Linked DNA regions of Homo sapiens: all the other regions are linked to region 3. The links are contacts of gene promoters, found by promoter capture Hi-C in human tissues and cell types (Jung and others, 2019). All regions are on one chromosome and are shown on one strand. Each heading gives the region's core, a stretch centred on a gene start or on the middle of the fragment in contact. The rest is flanking DNA. Distances are from core to core; before and after follow the strand shown. Region 1 overlaps FOLR1-AS1 (FOLR1 antisense RNA 1). Region 2 overlaps LRTOMT (leucine rich transmembrane and O-methyltransferase domain containing). Region 3 holds the start of CLPB (ClpB family mitochondrial disaggregase). Region 4 has its middle 23 kb from the start of FOLR3. Region 5 overlaps NUMA1 (nuclear mitotic apparatus protein 1).

Region 1 (4,300 bases), core at 1,005-3,504, 260 kb after region 3:
TGAGAAGTGTGACTGGAGCTCATTTATGGGGTGGTGTGGGGAAGATTTGGCTTGAGGGCTCAAAGGAGGGGCATGGTCTTCTGTGCTAATTTGAAGAAGTTTAGTTTTTACAGTTGATACCACTGGAAAGCATTGAAAGATTGGTGAAAGAGCTGTAACATAATAAGACACATTTCGGTTTTGTTTTTACTTTTTTAAAAAAGGTCCATCAGACAGTGGAACATGTAGGTGGAAGTGTGCTGATGAATAGAGTATCTATAGTCCCCAGTCTCTCCCTACAACATATTTATTACTTACAAAGGGGAAAGTGTAGTGGAGAAACCTGGGAGACATGATCTCAACCAAAAGATCAAAGTTAACCTCACCAGGAATGGGCAAACCCCTCACCACGTGCCTCCTGTTACGATGCATGGAATAACTGTGTAGGGTATTCGTGCCCAAAATGTGTAACCTCAGTGAATCATGAGGAAACAAACCCAAATGGAGCAGTATTCTACCAAATAACTGGCCTGTGGCTTTCAGCAATGTCAAGATCATAAAAGAACCCCATTCCTTCCAATGCCCATCAGTATGTGACTGAATTCAGTGTGATGTACACATAGAATGGATTATTACCTAGTAATTTAACATCTCAATAGGTCAACATGGAAAGATCTCAGAACAATGGCAGATGAAAACTGGACTGAGCTGCCCTTTTCCCCACCTGTAAGATGAGCAGAAAACCAAAGTTTGATGGCATACTGTGTTGACAAGGTTGTGGAGAAACAGGCACTCTCTCTCTCTGTTTTTTTTTTTTTTTTTTTGAGACAAGGTCTCGCTCTGTCGCACAGGCTGGAGTGCAGTGGCACAATCACAGCTCATTGTAGCCTCAACCTCTCAGGGCTCAAGTGATTCTCTCACCTCAGCTTCCCTGGTAGTTGGGACTATAGGCACACACCACCATGCCCAGCTGATTTTTTTAGTTTTTTGTAGAGATGGGGTTTCACCATGTTGCCCAGGCTGATCTTGAGCTCCTGGGGTCGAGAGATTCTCCTGCCTCAGAATCTCAAAGTGCTGGATCACAGGTGTGAGCTCTCACACACCCAGCGGAGAAACAGGCACTCTCATGCTTTGCTGGTGGAGGAGCCACATTGATAAAATCTCTATAAAGTTGTAACTATCAAAATTATACATACTCTTGACCCAATAACCCTTTCTGGAATTCAGTATAACATTCCACTAGGTACAAGATTTTTTGTTTGTTTGTTTTGTGACGGAGTTTCACTCTTGTAGCCCAGGCCGGAGTGCAGTGGTATGATCCCAGCTCACTGCAACCTCTGCCTCCTGTGTTCAAGCGATTCTCCTGCCTCAGCCTCCTGAGTAGCTGGGATTACAGGCATGTGCCATCACACCTGGCTAATTTTTGTATATTTTAGTAGAGATGGGGTTTCACCATGTTGGCTAGGCTGGTCTGACATTCCTGACCTCAGGTGATCCACCCACCTTGGCCTCCCAAAGTGCTGGGATTGCAGTCGTGAGCCACTGAGCTCAAGGTGCTCAGTGTTACAATCTTGTAACAGCTGGTACAAGACTGTTAATTGCAGCATTACTTGTCATTTATTAAAAAGTAGGTCAGGCCAGGCTCGGTGGCTCATGCCTGTAATCCCAGCACTTTTGGAGGCCAAGGTGGGTGGATCACCTGAGGTCAGGAGTTCGAGACCAGCCTGGCCAACATGGTGAAACCCCATCTCTACTAAAAATACAAAATTTAGCCAGGCGTGGTGGTGTGTGCCTGTAATCCCAGCTACCCAGGAGGCTGAGGCAGGAGAATCGCTGGAACATGGGAGGCAGAGGCTGCAGTGAGCCGAGATCACACCACTGCACTCCAGCCTGGGTGACAGAGCAAGACTCCGTCTCAAAAAAAAAAAAAAAAAAAAAAAAAGTAGGTCAGGCACAATGACCTACTGCAATAATCCCAGCACATTGGGAGGCCAAGGAATGAAGATCGCTGGGGCCCAGGAGTTCAAGACTAGCCTGGGCAACATAGCAAGACCCCAGTCTCAAACAAATAAAAACAAGGCAGGTGTTTATCATTGAGACCCTCCTCTCCAAACAGTATCTCCTCCCAGCCCACATCTAGTGAGGGAAGAGGAAATAAACTGTCTTCCCCACCTGAAGCCCAATAACTCATCTCCTGTTTCTGCCCATCTTCCTTCCACCTGCGCTTTTGTCCGTGTATAGTGTGGGGGTAATGAGCTTTGTGTGAGCGGGAGGGTCTCAGGAGAACCAGGCTGAGGGATAGATAGATACCTAGATTCTGGCTCAACCTCCACAGCCTACTTCCCAGTGAATGTCAAGCCAGTTCCAGCCTGATTCGGGGACTATCAATAGGAAAGATGAAGCAATGTGTCACTCCAACCCACTTGTCCCCAGATTACAAGACACAAGACACATGTGGATTTGTCTATTAGGATAGGTTGTCGGAAGAACCCCAGGGGACCCTTCTTGGATCAGGAACCAATGTCCACGGCCCCAGTCCCATGGGACGGGGCCCCAGCATTCATGGCCGCAGCATAGAACTTGGCCACCTCCTCACTGGGGTTGCCCTGGGCTGAGTCAAACCACATCTAGATGCAGCGGCCACTCCCTCAGCTGTAGTTGTAGTTGCTGACCTTGAAGGAATGGCTCCAGAGGCCTTCACAAAGGGCAGCTGGAGTGGGGAAGTAGGGCTCAAAGGTGTGGCAGAGGGCCCAGGCCGGACACTCATTAATCCCTGAGGGAGGAGAATGTAAGACCCTTAGCTTCTGGGCCAGACCACACCCCTCCCAACCCCAAAGCCCCACTCCCACTCCTCACCTCATCTCCTCCGTCCCTCACCTGAGGTCCAATTCCAGCCTTTGTGCCAGTTGCTTTTGCAGGTGTAGGAGGTGCGACAGTCCTCCCACCAGCGCTCACAGTCCTCTTTGCACAGGGGCACGTTCAGAATGCGCTCTTTGCGCCAGCTCTGGTTGACCTGAGTGGGGAGGAGACGGAACACTCCTGTCAGCCACGTATCTCAGCCGCTTTACCCTTGAAGGAGACCAGAGCTGTGGGAGGGGGCAGGGCGTCCACCACCCTCAGACCCAAATTCCTGGACCAAGCCCTCTCTGCAAGTGGCTGGCAGGTTGTGCCCTCTGCTGAGATTAATGTTTTGTGTTGTTTTTGTTGTTGTTGTTTTATTTTTGAGACAAAGTCTCGCACTGTTGCTCAGGCTGGAGTGCAGTGGCACAATCTCGGTTCACTACAACCTCCACCTCCCAGGTTCAAGCGATTCTCCTGCCTCAGCCTCCTGAGTAGCTGGGATTACAGGCTCCCACCGCCATGCCCGGCTAATTTTTGTATTCTAGTAGAGACAGGGTTTCATCATGTTGGCCAGGCTGGTCTCGAACTCCTGACCTCAGGTAATCCACCTGCCTTGGCCTCCCAAAGTGCTGGGATTACAGGCATAAGCCAATGCACCCAGCTATGAGGTTCATGTTTGTGGGAATGGCACTCATACCTGCCAGATCCAGGGCCCGAGGTTGGGTGAGCACTCATAGAGACCGGTGTCCTGGATAAAGTGGCGCTTGCAGGCAGGCTCCATCTTACCACAGTGATCCCAGTTAAAGTTGTACAGGCGGGAGGTGTCCTTGTGCAGCTCCTGGCTGGTGTTGGTCATGCAGCAGGCATTCTTCTTCTAGGGACTGCACTGGGTGGGGAAGACACAGGACTAAGTCCCTCACCACCGCAGCCATCTCCCCCATATTCTGGCTCCTCTGCCCCAGGTAGGTCATCCAGAGGAACACTTCCTAGGGAGGGCCCTTGAGGAGTCCCCACCTGGGAACACAGGCAATTACAATATTGGTGCATTTTTCCCTTATTTATTTATTTATTTGAGACAGGTCTCTCTCTGTTGCACATGCTGGAGTGCTGTGGTGCAATTATAGCTCACTGTAGCCTCTACATCCTGTGCTCAAGCAATCCTCCCACCTCAGCCTTCTGAGTAGCTGGGATTCAGGCCCATGCCACCACACCTGGCTATTTTTAAAATCTTTTTGTAGAGACAAATGGGATCTAATTAAACTAAAGAGCGTCTGCACAGCAAAAGAAACTACCATCAGAGTGAACAGGCAACCTACAGAATGGGAGAAAATTTTTGCAATCTACCCATCTGACAAAGGGCTAATATCCAGAATCTACAAAGAACTTAAACAAATTTACAAGAAAAAAATCAAACAACCCCATCAAAAAGTGGGCAAAGGAAATGAACAGACACTTCTCAAAAGAAGACATTTATGCAGCC
Region 2 (3,878 bases), core at 181-2,680, 340 kb after region 3:
GGGCTGACTCGTGGGCAGAGAAGGAAGAATGTGGGGAACAACCTGCCCTCCACTCCAACCCTCCACAGCCATACTGTATGACTGTAACCTACTTTTATTTATGTTTTAAGACATACAGGGCATCACACTGAAAAGGAGCTGTGATCTGAGGGTCAGGAGTGTGGGCCTGGGTACCAGCACTGCCACTGACTTGCCTCTCTCAGCCTTAGTTGCCCCTTCACTGAAGACCTTTCCAGCTTTGGTGATCTACGATTCTATCACAGCAAGCAACAGGAAGACAGAGCATCATGCTAGGCACATAAGAAGCTTTTAAAATACTGGTTAAATTGAGATCACCACACCAGGGGAATAGTGTCCAAGTCATGCTCCAGCTCCTTTCCCCTCTTAGGGATCTTGGACTAGAAAAGGCCAAACTTTATTTCTTAAAACTTGAATCTGAGTTCACAGAAAGTAAGTGCTGTACTTTATTGACTACCTCTTCCACAGGAGAACCCAGCACAGGTCACAGTGGGTGCGCAGTGACAGTTAGAATTTTACTTCAGCCTCTGATGTACCAGTTGTTTGTTGGTTTTCATGTATTTTCTTTTCTTTTTTTTTTTTTTTGAGACGGAGTCTCACTCTGTTGCCAGGCTGGAGTACAGTGGCGCAATCTCGGCTCACTGCAACCTCTGCCTCCTGGGTTCAAGTGATTCTCCTGCCTCAGCCTCCCGAGTAGCTGGGACTACAGGCGCCCGCCACCACGCCCAGCTAATTTTTTGTATTTTTAGTAGAGGCGGGGTTTCACCATGTTGGCCAGGATGGTCTTGATCTCTCTTGACCTTGTGATCCACCCACCTCGGCCTCCCAAAGTGCTGGGATTACAGGCGTGAGCCGCTGTGCCCGGTGGTTTTCATGTATTTTCATTCAATCCTCACAAAACCTTTATGATACTGGCATATTATCCCCATTTTTCCGACAGGGAGGCTGCAGTTTTGAGAGGTTAGGTAGCTTGCTCAAAGTCACAGTCAGTAAGAGGCAAACCCAGGATTTGAACCTACATCTATCTGTCTGGCCCCCTAGCCTTGTGCTTTGGACTGTACCATGCTGCCTCATTACTTCCTTGATAACATGTAGGAGTGGAGAGGTTGGGGGCTGAACAAAGTGGCTTCAGGCTCCCCTGACTGGATTCCTACTGTTAGGAACTCACAGGGTCAATGGAAGTCAGGTCATTAAAGGACAGGTCGATCCAGGCCAGGTTCTCTGGGTGCTCCAACAGCTGTGAAGCCACCTGGTTGAAGTCTCTCAGATCATTGAGAACATTGTTATTCAGCCACAGGGACTGGGTCAGTGATTTCCCCGACTTTGAACGCTTCAGTGGTCGTAGTCCTGTCCTTGGCTCCTCATTTACCAGATCTGTGGGGACAAAGTGAGACTTGGGTATCATCTTTGCTTTTTTGGCTTTAGGGGGTGGGAAGGGACAGAGCTGGAAAGATTAGCCATCCAGGCTGTAGCTGGAGGGTCTGGAAGGGCCATAGCCCTGTGCCTGAGTCTAGTGCAACCCTGTCCCACAGCTTCCAGCAATCAGTAAGTTTAGACTAAGGGCCAGAGACTTCTATCTCAAGCTCTTGGCTTTCCAGGTCACATGGACTTCTCATGTCCACTGTACCACTGGGTCTTTTTTATACCAAACCAGTGTGGGGTTGAGGAAAACTAAGAACCAGAATTGTTGGGCTTGAGCTGAGTAGATGATAGCACAAAATCCTGAATTAACTACTGGTAAAGCCTATAGAATTCACTTCAGTGGAATACACTTTGATATCCTGTCTCTCTTTCCATGAATGTTGAGTACCTACAGTATGCCAGGTACTGGATATACAGTGATAAACAAAATGAGAGACAGTCTGTTCCAGACTTTGTATGAATAATAGGGCAGAGAGCAGACATTTGTGCCTTGGAGGAGCTTATATGGGCAAGATGGGAGCAAGCTGGCAACATGGTGTGATAAGTGCTATATAATAGTTGTAGCAGCACAGAAGAGAGGCTATTGACCCAGTATGGGAGCTCAGGGAAGTTTCCCAGGGAAGGTGAAGCCTGAGCTGAATCTCCATGGATTAGGGGATGTTTATCAGGCAAAGAAGGGTAAACAGGCAGGGAACAGCATGAAGAAAGGTATAGAGGTACAGAACAGCCAGGGAGTCTGGGGCGGGTTTGTGTGCCTGCACAAGTGCTTGCACGCACTGCACAAGGGGGACAGAGAGGAAAAGGAGGCAGGAATCCAGTCAAAAGTCTCAAATGTCAGGCTAAGGATCTTGGGCTTTACCCTGTGTGTAATGGGAAGGCACTGGAGTGTTTAAAGCAAATGATTCAAATCTTTTATTTCAGAAAGATCACTCTTAAGTGTCAGTGTGGAATATGGATTTTAGGGAGTGAGTTGGACCAAATGACCAATTTGGCTGTTTGAGTCATCCAAGCAAGACATGAGAGGGCCCTACAATCAACATAATTTGGTTGACTGGATGTAAAGGTAGAAGAATATTAAAGGGTGGTTGCCAGTTGTATTAACTGGTAAGGAATTACAGAAGAAGAAATAGCATTGGGAATGTGATGAGTTCAGGCTTAGCTTTGGTGTATTTGAGGTTCCTGTACAAAAAGGTGGAGAAGTCAAGTAGGCAGTTGGAGATGAAGGTCGGAAGCTCAGGAGACACAGACTTGAGAATCATTAGCATAGAAGGCATACAAGTTAGGGAAAGAGATGAGATTCCTCAGGGAGAGTGAGGGTAGGGAGGAAGGTCAGGGAGGAAGAAGAATCCATTAGAGAAGTTAAATGATCAGGGAAAATCAGGAGAGGACAGTTTAAAGATGTTCAGGGAGTAAATAGTTTATAGTAGTAAGTTCCAGGGAGGTAAGGACTGAAAAGTAATTTTGGCAACTTAGAAGTCCCTGGTAACCTTGGTAAGGGCTGCTTCAGTGGAATGGCAAGGGCCTGGAGGCAGAAGCCAGATTGAAGTGAGTGAGTTCAAGAGTGAATGGAGGCTGGTTTCATGCCTGTAATCCCAGCACTTTGGGAGGCCAAGACAGGAGGATTGCTTGAGCCTAGGCGTTTGAGACCAGCCTGGGCAACATCATGAAACCCCGTCTCTACCAAAAAAAGAGTGAATGGATATAAGCAGTTAGCATAAACAACATCCTCAGAAAGTTTGGCTGAGGAGGAGAGAGAATAGGGAATAGGATTATGTTAGAACCCCGGTGTATGGAACACCCCAAAGCCTCACTCCCACTTTTTCAAAATGAGGTCCAGTTCCCATTGCTGCTAAGCCTTTGGTTCCCTAGTTCACCCCTGGGGAAGGAAGTATTTAGTATTTGCGGAAGCTAGCCAGCTTTCTTCACTCTCTTCTGCTCTCTACTGGAAGGACACCCTTTGCCCTTCCACCCCCACCTCTCCTCCTCCTCAGATGCAGGTCAGGCAACATCCACCAGATGGCTCTCTGCCTTAATCCTAGAGTGAGCAGGACCCACAATTGGGGCCTGGGGTTGCAGGAGGGTACTGGAACGGCGTACCCCAGCTCATGAATTCCTAATCCTGCTTCCCTCCCCATACCTCCTTAGAACCCTGAAACAGAATGACACAGATGAATCAAAATTAAGGTCAAAATAACCCCACATGAACTAGTGCCCCATGTGATAAGGTAGCAGCTTGGGGAATGCCACCAAGCATGGGGTGGAGGCCAAGCTCAGAGGGAATCACTGGTGGGACAGAGTTGCCTAAAACTTGATGCTGGCTGGAGCTGCTCTTACCAAGGATGGAGTGGTATATCCAGGCTGCCACAGGTTGCTGCTCCTCTCAGATTCCACCAATGCACTACACTGCCTAAGAATCTGTAAAGTTCCTTGTTCAGAGT
Region 3 (3,818 bases), core at 258-2,757:
GAAAGACAATAAAAATGTAGTATGTCAGATGGTGATAAATGCTGTGAAGGAAAATTAGGATGGGGTGCGTAGGATTACTATTTTAACCAGAATGGTCAGGGAAGACTCTGATCATGTGAAGTCTGAGCAGACGTACAAGACTTGGAAGAAACAGAACTGGCACAAAGAAGAACTTCCTCCTTTGCCTACCTATGGGTTCAGTTTGGAAAAGAGGGGGCGGGATGGGAGTGCAGGTGTTAATGGAAACTATATGCTCAAAATCAGAAGACCTGAGCATTACTTTACTCCAGGTGATTTACTGGCAAATCTTTTCACCTTTGAGCCTCAATTCCCTTCACTGTAGACGGGAATAACAGTTCTTGCCCAGCTTCTCACACACAGCTGCCATGAGGATCAGATGAGATGACCCACTTGAAAGCCCTTTAAAAATAACACAATCAGGGCCAGGCGCAGTGGCTCACGCCAGTAATCCCAGTACTTAGGGAGGCTGAGGCAGGTGGGTCGCTTGAGGTCAGGAGTTGGAGACCAGCCTGGCCAACATGGTGAAACCCCGTCTCTACTACTAAAAATACAAAAATTAGCCAAGCGTGGTGGTGCGTGCCTGTAATCCCAGCTACTCGGTAGGCTGAGGTGGGAGAATCGCTTGGACCAGGGAGACGGAGGTTGCAGTGAGCCGAGATGGCGCCACTGCACTCCAGTTTGGGCGGCAGAGTGAGATTCTGTCTCAAAAAAAAAAAAAAAAAAAAGACCGGAAGTCAACTCTTCAAATAAAATGTATTCCTATCTCAGGTGCAGTAGTTACCCTAAACATCTTTTTGAAAGGCCGCCCAGGCTGAAAAAAGAGATAGGCTAAACTAAATAAGCATAAGTTTCATAATATGCCTCTGCTGAAGATTCTTGGGTAATTTACACCAGTCAAAAATTGTGGGCCGGGCGCGGTGGCTCACGCTTGTAACCCCAGCATTTTGGGAGGCCGAGGCGGGCGGATCGCCTGAGGTCAGGAGTTAGAGACCAGCCTGGCCAACGTGGTGAAACCCCGTTTCCACTAAAAATACAAAAATTAGCTGGGCATGGTGGCGGGCGCCTGTAATCCCAGCTACTCGGGAGACTGAGGTAGGAGAATTGCTTGAACACAGGAGACGAAGGTTGCAGTGAGCCGAGATCGCGCCACGGCACTCCGGCCTGTGAGACAGAGCGAGACTCCGTCTCAAAAAAAAAAAAAAAAAAAAAGTGTGTCGTGTGCTTCAACTAAACTAGGAAAGAAGTCTTGGGATTCTAATCTTTAACTCTAATCGCCACGCCCCTTCACCCGAACTCTATTTCCCAATATGCCCCGGGCTTCTATAATCCCGCAGTCATTGTGACGCAATCCCACAGCCTTCTGGGAAACGTAGTTTATTTATTCTCCAGCTGGGGAAAGGCTTAGGGCTGTGGACTACCTCTCCCGTGAGGTAGTGCGCAACTCCACCCTGTTCGCGGCGTCTTCGAACGCGCCGCGGCAGCCATGTTGGACGTGGTCAGCACAGGGGCCGGCACCACGGGGTTATCGAAGCAGCTGTCAAGATGCTGGGGTCCCTGGTGTTGAGGAGAAAAGCACTGGCGCCACGGCTACTCCTCCGGCTGCTCAGGTCCCCAACGCTCCGGGGCCATGGAGGTGCTTCCGGCCGGAATGTGACTACTGGGAGTCTCGGGGAGCCGCAGTGGCTGAGGGTAGCCACCGGGGGGCGCCCTGGAACATCGCCGGCCTTGTTCTCCGGACGTGGGGCAGCCACCGGGGGGCGCCAGGGAGGACGCTTCGATACCAAATGCCTCGCGGCTGCCACTTGGGGACGCCTTCCTGGTCCCGAAGAAACACTCCCAGGACAGGACAGCTGGAACGGGGTCCCCAGCAGGGCCGGACTGGGCATGTGCGCCCTGGCCGCAGCGCTGGTGGTTCATTGCTACAGCAAGAGTCCGTCCAACAAGGGTGATTATGAGATCTGGGTTTGAGGAAGGGAGAGGCGGGAAGATTGTCCTAACTTCGTATCTTAGGAGGGTGGGAGGTACTTATAGGTTTAGATCCTTAGAGCCTAAGTCTTGGAGGGACTCAGACATCATCTGGTTACAGGGGCAGGGTGTTGCCCTAGAGACCTCATCACCTCGGAGTTGTATAATCTCGTACCATAGATCCGCTTCCCCTCTCTGGGCATCATTTTATCCATCTGTACAATGGGGATATTGGACTAAACATCTAATATTATAGCATGGTCCCCTTATGTTTCTCATATTCTGCCTGGTCCAATTCCTCTTTCCTGAGATCTCCAGGAAACGGAAATTATGGGGTGTTTTAAGGGCAACCGCCAGATGGTTTAGAGAAGTTGCCAAACCGCTCCCCCCTACCCCCCGCCACCAAAGGTGCCAGAGTCAGGAACAACCTGACTCGGTTCTAATGCCAGCTTGACCTCAATTTATTTATTTATTTATTTATTTATTTATTTATTTATTTATTTATTTATTTCTGAGATGGAGTCTTGCTCTGTCGCCAAGCTGGAGTGCAGTGGCGCAATCTCGGCCCACTGCAACCTCCGCCTCCCGGGTTCAAGCTATTCTCCTGCCTTAGCCTCCCAAGTAGCTGGGACTACAGGTGCGGGCCACCACACCCAGCTAATTTTTGTATTTTTAGTTGTTGGTCAGGATGGTCTCGATCTCTTGACCTCCTGATCCACCCGCCTTGGCCTCCCAAAGTACTGGGATTACAGGCGTGAGCCACCGCGTCTGACCAATTTCTTTATTTATATAGTGAAGGATAGTTTCCCAACATTTTTACAGTACTGTTATTTTGACTCTTTTTGGAGTTCAGCGGCCTGAGTCTGTCAGTCTCAGGATTTTGCTGTGTCTGGTCTCACATGCTGTGAGGTGATCTTGCCATGTGGGATAGTTGGCAGGAGAAGGAAGGTGGATTCCTGGAGGCCCAAGGGCAACTGCTGGGGGACTGGCTGATCCCGATTAGCATCTCATTTGGATCCGGGGAGCTAAGCAGCAGCTGAGAGAGTGGACAGAGAGCCAGACTGATGACCTATGTGAGTCCAGCCATTCAGGTTCTTAGTTGTTCCTCAAGAAGAAAGACTGAGGCATGGTGTCCATAGATTCCATGCACCCCAAGCTCTGAGAATTTGGAGCAAGAGTTGGGGAGTAGGGAGTGCCTTGACTTTGATTCGTTTGATGTGGCCAATTGTAAAGGAAGGACTTTGGTCTGGGAGAGACAACACTGGGGATCTTGTTTTGGTTCTGTGTCTAACTCTCATTGTGAATTTGGACTTTTGCTTCTCCTCACGGGTCCTCTGTTTCCTCATCTACAAAATGAGGGTTTTGAAATAGACACTAAGGGCATCGAGCTTAGGCATGTTGTAATCCTATAACTTCCAGCATTTTTGGGGGTACCCACTGTGTGTCTAGTTTTAGGCTAGGTGTGTGGGAAGTCCTAACTTAACACAAAATCAGTCAAGGGGACAGTGCAGGCAGTTGGAATGTAGGGCTGGTGAGTGGTGCTATGTGTCGTTGGGGGATCAGAGGGCCAGTAGGGTCAGGAAAGCCTTTCTGGAGTATTGGAGACCCCAGAGGATGGGAAATTTGAACTTGAGTTCTGAAGGATGAAGTAGAAACGGAAAGGGGAGTGATCTTTTGAGCCCCATGAGAGCAGGAAATGTATCTTCTCTTTTGTTTTTTCAGGTTATACTAGCAACTTTCCCGAATACCTAGACATCATTTGCCCACCACAGTGTCTGGAACTTAGTAGGTGCTCAGTAAATGTGTGAGAGTTGGATTATATTCCATGCAAA
Region 4 (4,112 bases), core at 456-2,955, 280 kb after region 3:
CTTATGGAATTTGCCAAGTTCCCTCTTCCTGTCTCATGGAAGATGGAGCCTCCATCAGCGTGGGTTCTTGAGTGAGAAGCAGAACCCCCTGGCTGCTAATGTAGTCCAGGAATGAGAAATAAACAGAATCCCCCTGATAACCCACATTCAGCATTGTAGCTTGAGCAAGAAATAAACATGACTTGTGGCCAGATGCAGTGACTCATGCCTGTAATCCCAGCATTTTGGGAGGATCACTCCAGCGCAGGAGTTTGAGAACAACCTGGGTAAAATAGTGAGACCCTGTCTCTACTATTACATATATAATACATGTTTTATATTATATGTATTAGCTGAATGTGGAGGCTCACACCTGTAGACCCAGCTACTCAGGAGGCTGAGGTAGGAGGATTGCTTGAGCCCAGTAGTTTGAGACCAGCCTGGACAACATTGCAAGATTTCCTCTCTACAAAAAATTGAAAAATTAGCCAGGTGTGGTGGCACATGCTTGTAGTCCCAAGTATTTGGGATGCTGAGGTGGGAGGATCACTTGAGCCCACGAGGCAGACGTTGCAGTGAGCTGAGATCATGCCACTCCATTCCAACCTGGGTGAGAGAGTGAGACCCTGTCTCAAAAAAAGAAAAATGCCTGGGCTTGGCTCTAAATTGGAGCTATAGTGAATAATAAAATCGAGAGCTACAAATGTCTCCTACCTTAGAAGAATACTTAAGTATCAGGCTAGTTCATAGCAAGCATCAGAGCTGGGAACTAGCCCAGTCTAACTGGCTTCAATCAATAAGAAATGGGAAACAAAACAGCCACATTCCCATTCATACCCAAATAATTCTCAAGATACATGTGTGGTGTCTGGTTTATTCAAAGTGGCTGTCAGAGACAAGACCATAGAAGAGGAACCAAATAGTTGGGAGCTGTGGGGCTAAACAGGGCAGGGATGTCCAAGTATCAGAAGGTAAAAGGAGGTCAGCTGAGCAGCCACAGCAGCATTAGGGCCAGGTTGAGCAGGAGAGGCCAGGCTGCCCAGGGCCCAGCCCCACTCAGAGCTGCAGCATAGAACCTTGCCACCTCCTCATTGGGGTTGCCCTGGGCCAGGTCGAACCACATCTGGATGCAGCGGCTGCTCCCTCGGTTGTAGTTGCTGACCCTGTAGGAGTGAGTCCAGATTTCACTGCACAGAGCAGTGGGTGTGAGAAAGTAGAGATGGAAAGGTAGTCAGGCAGCTGCCACCTGGCACTTGTTAGACCCTGTAGGGAAGAGGGAAGACCTTTAGCCACTGGGCCCCAAAGGGTCTCTGATTCTGCCAGCCCTACAACCCCAAAATGTCACACACCTGTTCCACACCCACACACCTTCACTTCCAAATCCCTCCTTTCCTGCCCACCCCAGCCCTCACCTGAGGTCCAGTTCCAGCCCTTGTGCCCATTGCTCTTGCAGGTGTAGGAGGTGCGACAATCTTCCCACCATTGCTCACAGTCCTCTTTGCACAGGGGCACATTCAGCACCCACTCTTTGCGCCAGCTCTGATCCACCTGGGAGATTTTGGTAGAAAAGAAGGGCTCAGGCTCAAGAATCCCAGGAACCCAGCCCTGAATAGAACTGGAGCTGGGGTTGCTGCCTGCAGAGACGCCTGGAAAATTCAGCTCCTCTGCTAGCTCTTGGATGCCAGGAAGCCATGCGTACCTGCTGGATCCAGGGCCCCAAGTTGGGGGGTCACTCGTAAAGGCAGGTGTCCTGGATAAAGTGCCGTTTGCAGGCAGGTACCATCTCTCCACAGTGGTTCCAGTTGAATCCATATAGATGGGAATATTCTTATGGGCTTCCTGGGTGGTGCTGGTAAAGCTCAGGCATTCTTTCTCCAGAGACTACACTGGATGCGGGAAGACACAGGACTAAGTCCACAGCCAGCACAGCCAGAATATTCCACACCCAGCCTCTCCCCTTTCAATCCTTAATCCCCAACCCAGTGGAAGTCATCCAGGAAAGTCCTTGCTGTTGGTAAACTCTTTGTGGGAGAGGGCTGTCAGAGACTGTGGAAGCCCGGAAGACAGCTCCTGTCTGGAGGTGCAGTCATTACAAAATTCGTTAATTCAGCTTTTATAGAGATCCTACATACTCTTACCCAGGCACTTTTCTAGTAACTGGGGTTACAAAAATGAGCACCTCAATGGATCACTGCTTTTGAAAACAATCAGGGGAGAAGGATGTCTCATACATTTTAGGGAAGCATGAGACATCAATCAAATGCATTTAAGGAATACATTGGCCAGGCACGGTGGCTCACGCCTGTAATCCCAGCACTTTGGGAGGCCAAGGCAGGCTGATCTTGAGGTCAGGAGTTTGAGACCAGCCTGGCCAACATAGTGAAACCCTGTCTCTACTAAAAATACAAAAAATTAGCTGGACGTGGTGACAGGCACCTGTAATCCTAGCTACTCAGGAGGCTGAGGTAGGAGAATTGCTTCAACCCAGGAGGCGGAGGTTGCAGCGAGCCGAGATCACACCACTGCACTCCAGCACGGGCGGCAGAGGGAGACTCCATCTAAAAAAAAAAAAAAAAATCATTGGTTTGGTCCAGGAAGGTGGGACAATTCAAAGTGGGGTGGCAGGGCTTTCAGGCTATACGTAAATTTAAACATTTTATGGTTGACAATTGGTTGAGTTTGTCTAAAGACCTGGGGTTGATAGAAAAGAAATGTTAAGATAAAAGACTGTGGAGACCAAGGTTCTTTTGAAGTCTTATAGTGGCTGCCCTTAGAAACAACAGATGACAAGTGTTTCCTATTCAGATCTATAAAAGGTGCTACACTTAGTTAATCTCTTTATGATTGGAAGGGCCTGGTAGAAAAAGATCCAGCTATGTTAATAGAGATTCTTTACAGATGAAAATTTTCCCCCACAAAGGACAGTAGCAGGGCCATTTCAAGATATGGCAAAGAAACATGTTTTGAGGTAAAAATATTAAAATATTTTGCTTTTCTTCCTTGTCTCGTCATGTTATGCCAGAGTCAGGTTGGAAAGTAAGTCATGATATATAGGGTTAAATAAAACCCATCTGATGAGAATTTATGATTTGTAGGGCATGACTCCCCAGACCCCTTAGATAGGAATTTTGGCAAGATAAAAAAAAATCATTGGATTTAGTCCTCGTTGAGGTGATAACCATTCGGAGGTGAGAAAGTAAGTTAAATTGTAACCCCAGAAGAGTTCCGATTACATAAACACTCAATACATACTTATTGAATGAATGAAAGCCCACGGCCTAGAATTTGGTATAAAGCTTGAGAAAAGAAAAATAGCTCAGAGCAGTCTCATGATGTGAGACATGCCCAATTTATCAGGCCCAGAAAGGCATGAGTATGGAACTTCAGTCACACCCTCCCCACCCATGCCCAGAGACAATTGTTCCAAGGCGTTTTGTCCCTGACTAGCTGCCTCACCCGTTATCTGTTCCTGGAATTTGTGATACAAAAAACAATGTATAGCCAATGAATTGCTTATGTTATTTTATTTTAAATTCTTGATAAACAACTTAGGAACTATTCTGTTTCCTTAAAAACTCACTTGTAACTGCTGTGAATCGAAGTGTATATTCAGGACAACTTGAATCTATGCTTCTGTGTAGCTATCCTCAAGCTTTCTGGATCTCGTTACTTAAGGCTGACAAGCTAAACATTAAAATGTGCACTTAAAAAATATATAAAAGCCCAGGCACAGTGGTTTACACCTATAATCCCAGTACTTTGGAGGCCAAGGTGGGAGGATCACTTGAGTGCAGGAGTTTGAGGTCAACTGGGACAACATAGTGAGACCTCATGTCTAAAAAGAGATAAAAATAAAAAAAAATAAAAATATAAAAAATAAAAGAATAAGTTAAAGTCAGAGCTGCTCAAGGTATACAGGTTATTTACCTCTTGTTAGTCTGCACTTGGCAGCTACAGGCTCACTGATTCAAAACAAGTGCAAACAGGGCAGTGACTGCTATCTGCTAATGGAGTCAAAACGAATATAAATAGAAATCCATATTACAAATTACTTTTCCTCTGTTTCTTCTTTAGTTATATTTGAATATGGATTTTTAAAATAACTGTTTAGCTAAGTTCAGGATATTAAAGGG
Region 5 (3,716 bases), core at 879-3,378, 380 kb after region 3:
AGCCTCCCTCGTAGCTGGGATTACAGGTGCCTGCCACCGTGCCCGGCTAATTTTTTTGTATTTTTAGTGGAGACAGGGTTTCACCATGTTGGCCAGGCTGGTCTCGAACTCCTGGCCTCAAGCGATCCACCTGCCTTGACCTGCCAAAGTGCTGGGATTACAAACGTGAGCCACCGTGCCCAGCCACTCTTACATTCTTATCTTGCTTTTTGGCACACATGTTCATTTATTTGTTCACTCAAGCTAGGAAATTTAGAGGTGCTTCAAGAATTTTCCTTTTCTCATTCTTCATTTATACAGTTGTCCCTCAGCATCTGTGGGGATTGGTTCCAGGACTTCACACAGATACCAAAATCCTTGGATGCTCAAGTCTCTATATAAAATGGTATAATATTAGCATATAACCTTCACACGTCCTTCGTATAGTTTAAATCATCCTTGGATTACTTATATAATGCAATGTAAATACTATGTAAATAGTTGTTACATTGTATTGTTTAGAATAATGACAAGAAAAAAAAGTTTATACATCTTCAGTACAGATGCTTTTTTTTCCCTAAAATGTTTTTCATCTCAGGTTGGTTGAATCCACACATGTGGAACCCATGGATACAGAGGGCCTACTGTAATTGGTTGTCAGGGCCTGTCATAAATAGTTCTCAAAGCTATTGTTGCATCTTTATTGTCATTGCCTTACTTCAGACATACATTACTTCTTGCTTGTAACAGACAATGGTTTTTGCACTGCATTCTGTAAAGCTTTACAGAACTATAGAACTGACTTAAGAACCAGGGGGAAGCAGAGGGAACAAGTCTCCAAATATCCCTTACTTCAAACTGTCTTCTTCTGTGTGTCCTGGGGTTCTATATAAAGGTTACATTTAAATAGAGTTCATTTAAAATATATAGTTTGGAACCTTTCATTCATTCAAGAAGTATTTATCAAGCACTCATGCTGTGCCAGCCATTGTGCTGATTTCTAAGAATTCAGCGGTGAGCACACAGTTTGTGATTTCATGGAACTTAAGGCAGTAAGAGAAAGATAAATTAATAAAATACAAAAAGGCGTAATTAGGAACTATGGGCTGGGCACAGTGGCTCATACCTGTTATCCCAGTGCTCTGGGAGGACAAGGTGGGAGCTTCACTTTAGTTGAGGAGTTCGAGACCAGCTTGGACAACATAGCAAGATCCTGTCTCTACAAAAATTAAAAATAAAATAGCCAGGTGTGGTGGCTTGTGCCTGATAAAGTACTATTATTATTCCCATTTTACAGCTGGGGAAAATGAGGGCACAGAGAGAGTAAATAACTTGCCCAAGGTTGCAGAGCTATTAAGCTATAAACCCAGAATTTGTATTAGGTTGTCTTAAGTTCAGACCTTGTAATCTTAGCCATTATGCTCTATTGCCTTCCTCCTGTGTCTTACCATTCCAGTCTGTACTTTATACAGTTTCCCTTCTGAAACATAGCCCTGATCATGCTGCTCCCCTTTACCCTCTTCCTTTAGAAACCTTGATTGTCTTCTCATCACCTACAATTTCTTAGTATGAGGCAAGTGCCTCACAATTTAATATTACTTACCCTTGTTTTTTTTTTTGAGATGGAGTCTTGCTCTGACTGGAGCACACCAGACTGGAGTGCAGTGGCATGATCTCGGCTCACTGCAACCTCCACCTCCTGGGTTCAAATGATTCTCCTGCCTCAGCCTCCTGAGTAGCTGGGATTACAGGCATGTGACCACACCCAGCTAATTTTTGTGTTTTTAGTAGAGACGGGGTTTCACCATGTTGGCCAGGATGGTCTCAATCTCCTGACCTCATGATCCACCTGCCTTGGCCTCCCAAAGTGCTGGGATTACAGGCGTGAGCCACCGCCCCTGGCCTTACTTATTACCCTTCTTATCATCTGATGCACCTCCCTAAAACTGCATGCCATTGTTCAACTGTAATATGGTCTGTCTTTGCATGTGCTGTTTTCTCTGCCTAGAATGCTTTTTTACTTTTTGGTGAAACTCTACTTATCCTGCTCATATTTTAATATCTAGCTTAAATGTCACTTCCTCTATAAAGCATTCCCCATCATCCCATCCTGAGTTAGTCCCTCACGCTCCTTTAAACCAGTACCTACTCTTATTTTCTCGTTCTGAAATCTTTCCATGAAAGCAAGAATCTTAGTGTTCTCTTTAGCTCCCCACCTTTCCCACGCCCCTATATGCTAAGAGCATTGTCTCTACGTCTGTAATGCCTTTCAGAGCCACCTGTTTTAGTTCCTACTGCCCCTGCCCTGGCAGTGCAGTTTTCTCTCTACCTCTGTCGCTGCCACCTAAGTCCATTTTCTGCCTCTGGCCTCACTGTTGTGCTAGAGTCATCTTTTCAAAAAGCACAAGTAGTATACCATTCTCCTGCCCAGGACTTTTCAGTGCCTCCCACTTCTCTTCAGTAAGTCACCCTGGGTTGTTGGTCCCCACTAGCCTTGCTTGTGTTATCTTACCTTCCTTTCAGCACACCCCAAGCCCATGTTCTTTGGCTTCATATTATGGTTACAGATGTGTCTCTTCCTCTACAAGATTATAAACTCAAGTTTAAAGATTTACCCTTGGGCCAGGCACAGTGGCTCACACTTGTAATCCCAGCACTTTGGGAGGCCAAGGTGGGCTGATCGCTTGAGCTCAAGAGTTTGAGACCAGCTTGGGCAAATGGCAAAACTCCATCTCTACAAAAAGTACAAAACTAGCTGGGCATGGTCCTGCACACCGGTAGCCCCAGCTACTTGGGAGGCTGAGGTAGGGAGGATCACTTGAGCCTGGGAGGTGGAGGTTGCAGTGAGCTGAGATTGCACCACTGCACTCCAGCCTGGGCAGCAGAGTGAGACCTTGTCTCAAAAAAAAAAAAAAAAATCTTTGAATTCCTAGCACAGTATGTAGGATGTTTATATCATGTTTATAGTCGAATATCCCTGATTAAATTTCATTAATTCTAAGTAAAGAGTAACATATCTTATGTATTTTGGAGAATATGTTTTGATATAAAGAAAGAGCTTTGCCTTAAAAGGGATAAATTTCAGTTAGTAGGAAAATTGCTTGTGTGAAATTTTGTACTTCTCAGTGATGCCAGATACGTAGGATTTATTTTCTCTGATGGTGATCACGTTATTTATTAGCATCTTTAAAAGTGTGGATAGGACAGCACGGTGGCTCACACCGTTTAATTCCAACACTTTGGGAGGTCAATGCAGGCAGATCGCTTGAGCCCAGGTGTTTGAGACCAGCCTAGGCAACATAGCGAGACTTCATCGCTACTAAAAATTAAAAATAGCCAGGCGTGGTGGCGCGTGCCTGTTGTAGCAGCAGCTACTTGTAAGGCTGAGGCGGGAGGATCACTTGAGCCCAGAAGTTTGAGGTTGCAGCGAGCTATGATTATGCCACTGCACTCCAGCCTGGGTGACAGAGCAAGACCCTGTCTCAAAAAAAAAAAAAAAAAAAAGGTGGGTATAGATCTGGTGCCATTTAGACATCTGCATTGTCCTTTTCATGAGCTGTGGCAGAAGCAGTGTGAACAATGAATGCAGAAATGCTTTGTATACATGAAGACCTATACTGATGAGAAAGATAGAGGATGTAGCTGAGATGTGCTGGAGAGAGCACTGGATTTAGAAGACATCTCTTTGAGTTCTGGCTCTGCAGCCTTACCAGTCGACCTTGAGGCAGGTATTTTCT

The links. The method cuts DNA at HindIII sites, captures the fragments that hold promoters and counts their contacts. A contact is called where the count stands out against the background at its distance.
Region 1: a fragment that was not itself captured here is called in contact with the fragment with the promoter of CLPB in region 3 in 2 of the 25 tissues and cell types used here (adrenal gland and mesenchymal stem cells).
Region 2: a contact is called between a fragment that was not itself captured here and the fragment with the promoter of CLPB in region 3, in 1 of the 25 tissues and cell types used here (lymphoblastoid cells).
Region 4: a fragment that was not itself captured here is called in contact with the fragment with the promoter of CLPB in region 3 in 2 of the 25 tissues and cell types used here (dorsolateral prefrontal cortex and lymphoblastoid cells).
Region 5: a contact is called between a fragment that was not itself captured here and the fragment with the promoter of CLPB in region 3, in 1 of the 25 tissues and cell types used here (IMR-90 fibroblasts).

The regions. Positions count from the first base shown.
Region 1 is chr11:72,176,173-72,180,472 of GRCh38, reverse strand. All of the region lies in intron 2 of FOLR1-AS1 (FOLR1 antisense RNA 1), which reads left to right. It also overlaps the pseudogene FOLR3P1. Among named protein-coding and RNA genes, the nearest start is that of FOLR1, 14 kb to the left of the region's middle. The HindIII fragment of the contact is 8,900 bases long and covers 1-4,300 here.
Region 2 is chr11:72,091,010-72,094,887 of GRCh38, reverse strand. LRTOMT (leucine rich transmembrane and O-methyltransferase domain containing) reads right to left here. Exons shown (of 9, transcript NM_001145310.4): 4 at 1,187-1,392. It overlaps LRRC51 (leucine rich repeat containing 51), which reads right to left. Exons shown (of 6, transcript NM_145309.6): 4 at 1,187-1,392. Among named protein-coding and RNA genes, the nearest start is that of LAMTOR1, 10 kb to the left of the region's middle. RefSeq lists an enhancer at 3,530-3,689. The HindIII fragment of the contact is 6,356 bases long and covers 1-3,878 here.
Region 3 is chr11:72,432,220-72,436,037 of GRCh38, reverse strand. It overlaps CLPB (ClpB family mitochondrial disaggregase), which reads left to right and starts at 1,507. Exons shown (of 16, transcript NM_001258392.3): 1 at 1,507-1,966. The coding sequence starts at 1,564. RefSeq lists enhancers at 556-1,362, 1,426-1,885. The HindIII fragment of the contact is 14,936 bases long and covers 1-3,818 here.
Region 4 is chr11:72,156,589-72,160,700 of GRCh38, reverse strand. It overlaps the pseudogene FOLR1P1. Among named protein-coding and RNA genes, the nearest start is that of FOLR3, 23 kb to the right of the region's middle. The HindIII fragment of the contact is 5,430 bases long and covers 1-4,112 here.
Region 5 is chr11:72,050,653-72,054,368 of GRCh38, reverse strand. All of the region lies in intron 2 of NUMA1 (nuclear mitotic apparatus protein 1), which reads left to right. Among named protein-coding and RNA genes, the nearest start is that of MIR3165, 20 kb to the left of the region's middle. The HindIII fragment of the contact is 4,976 bases long and covers 1-3,716 here.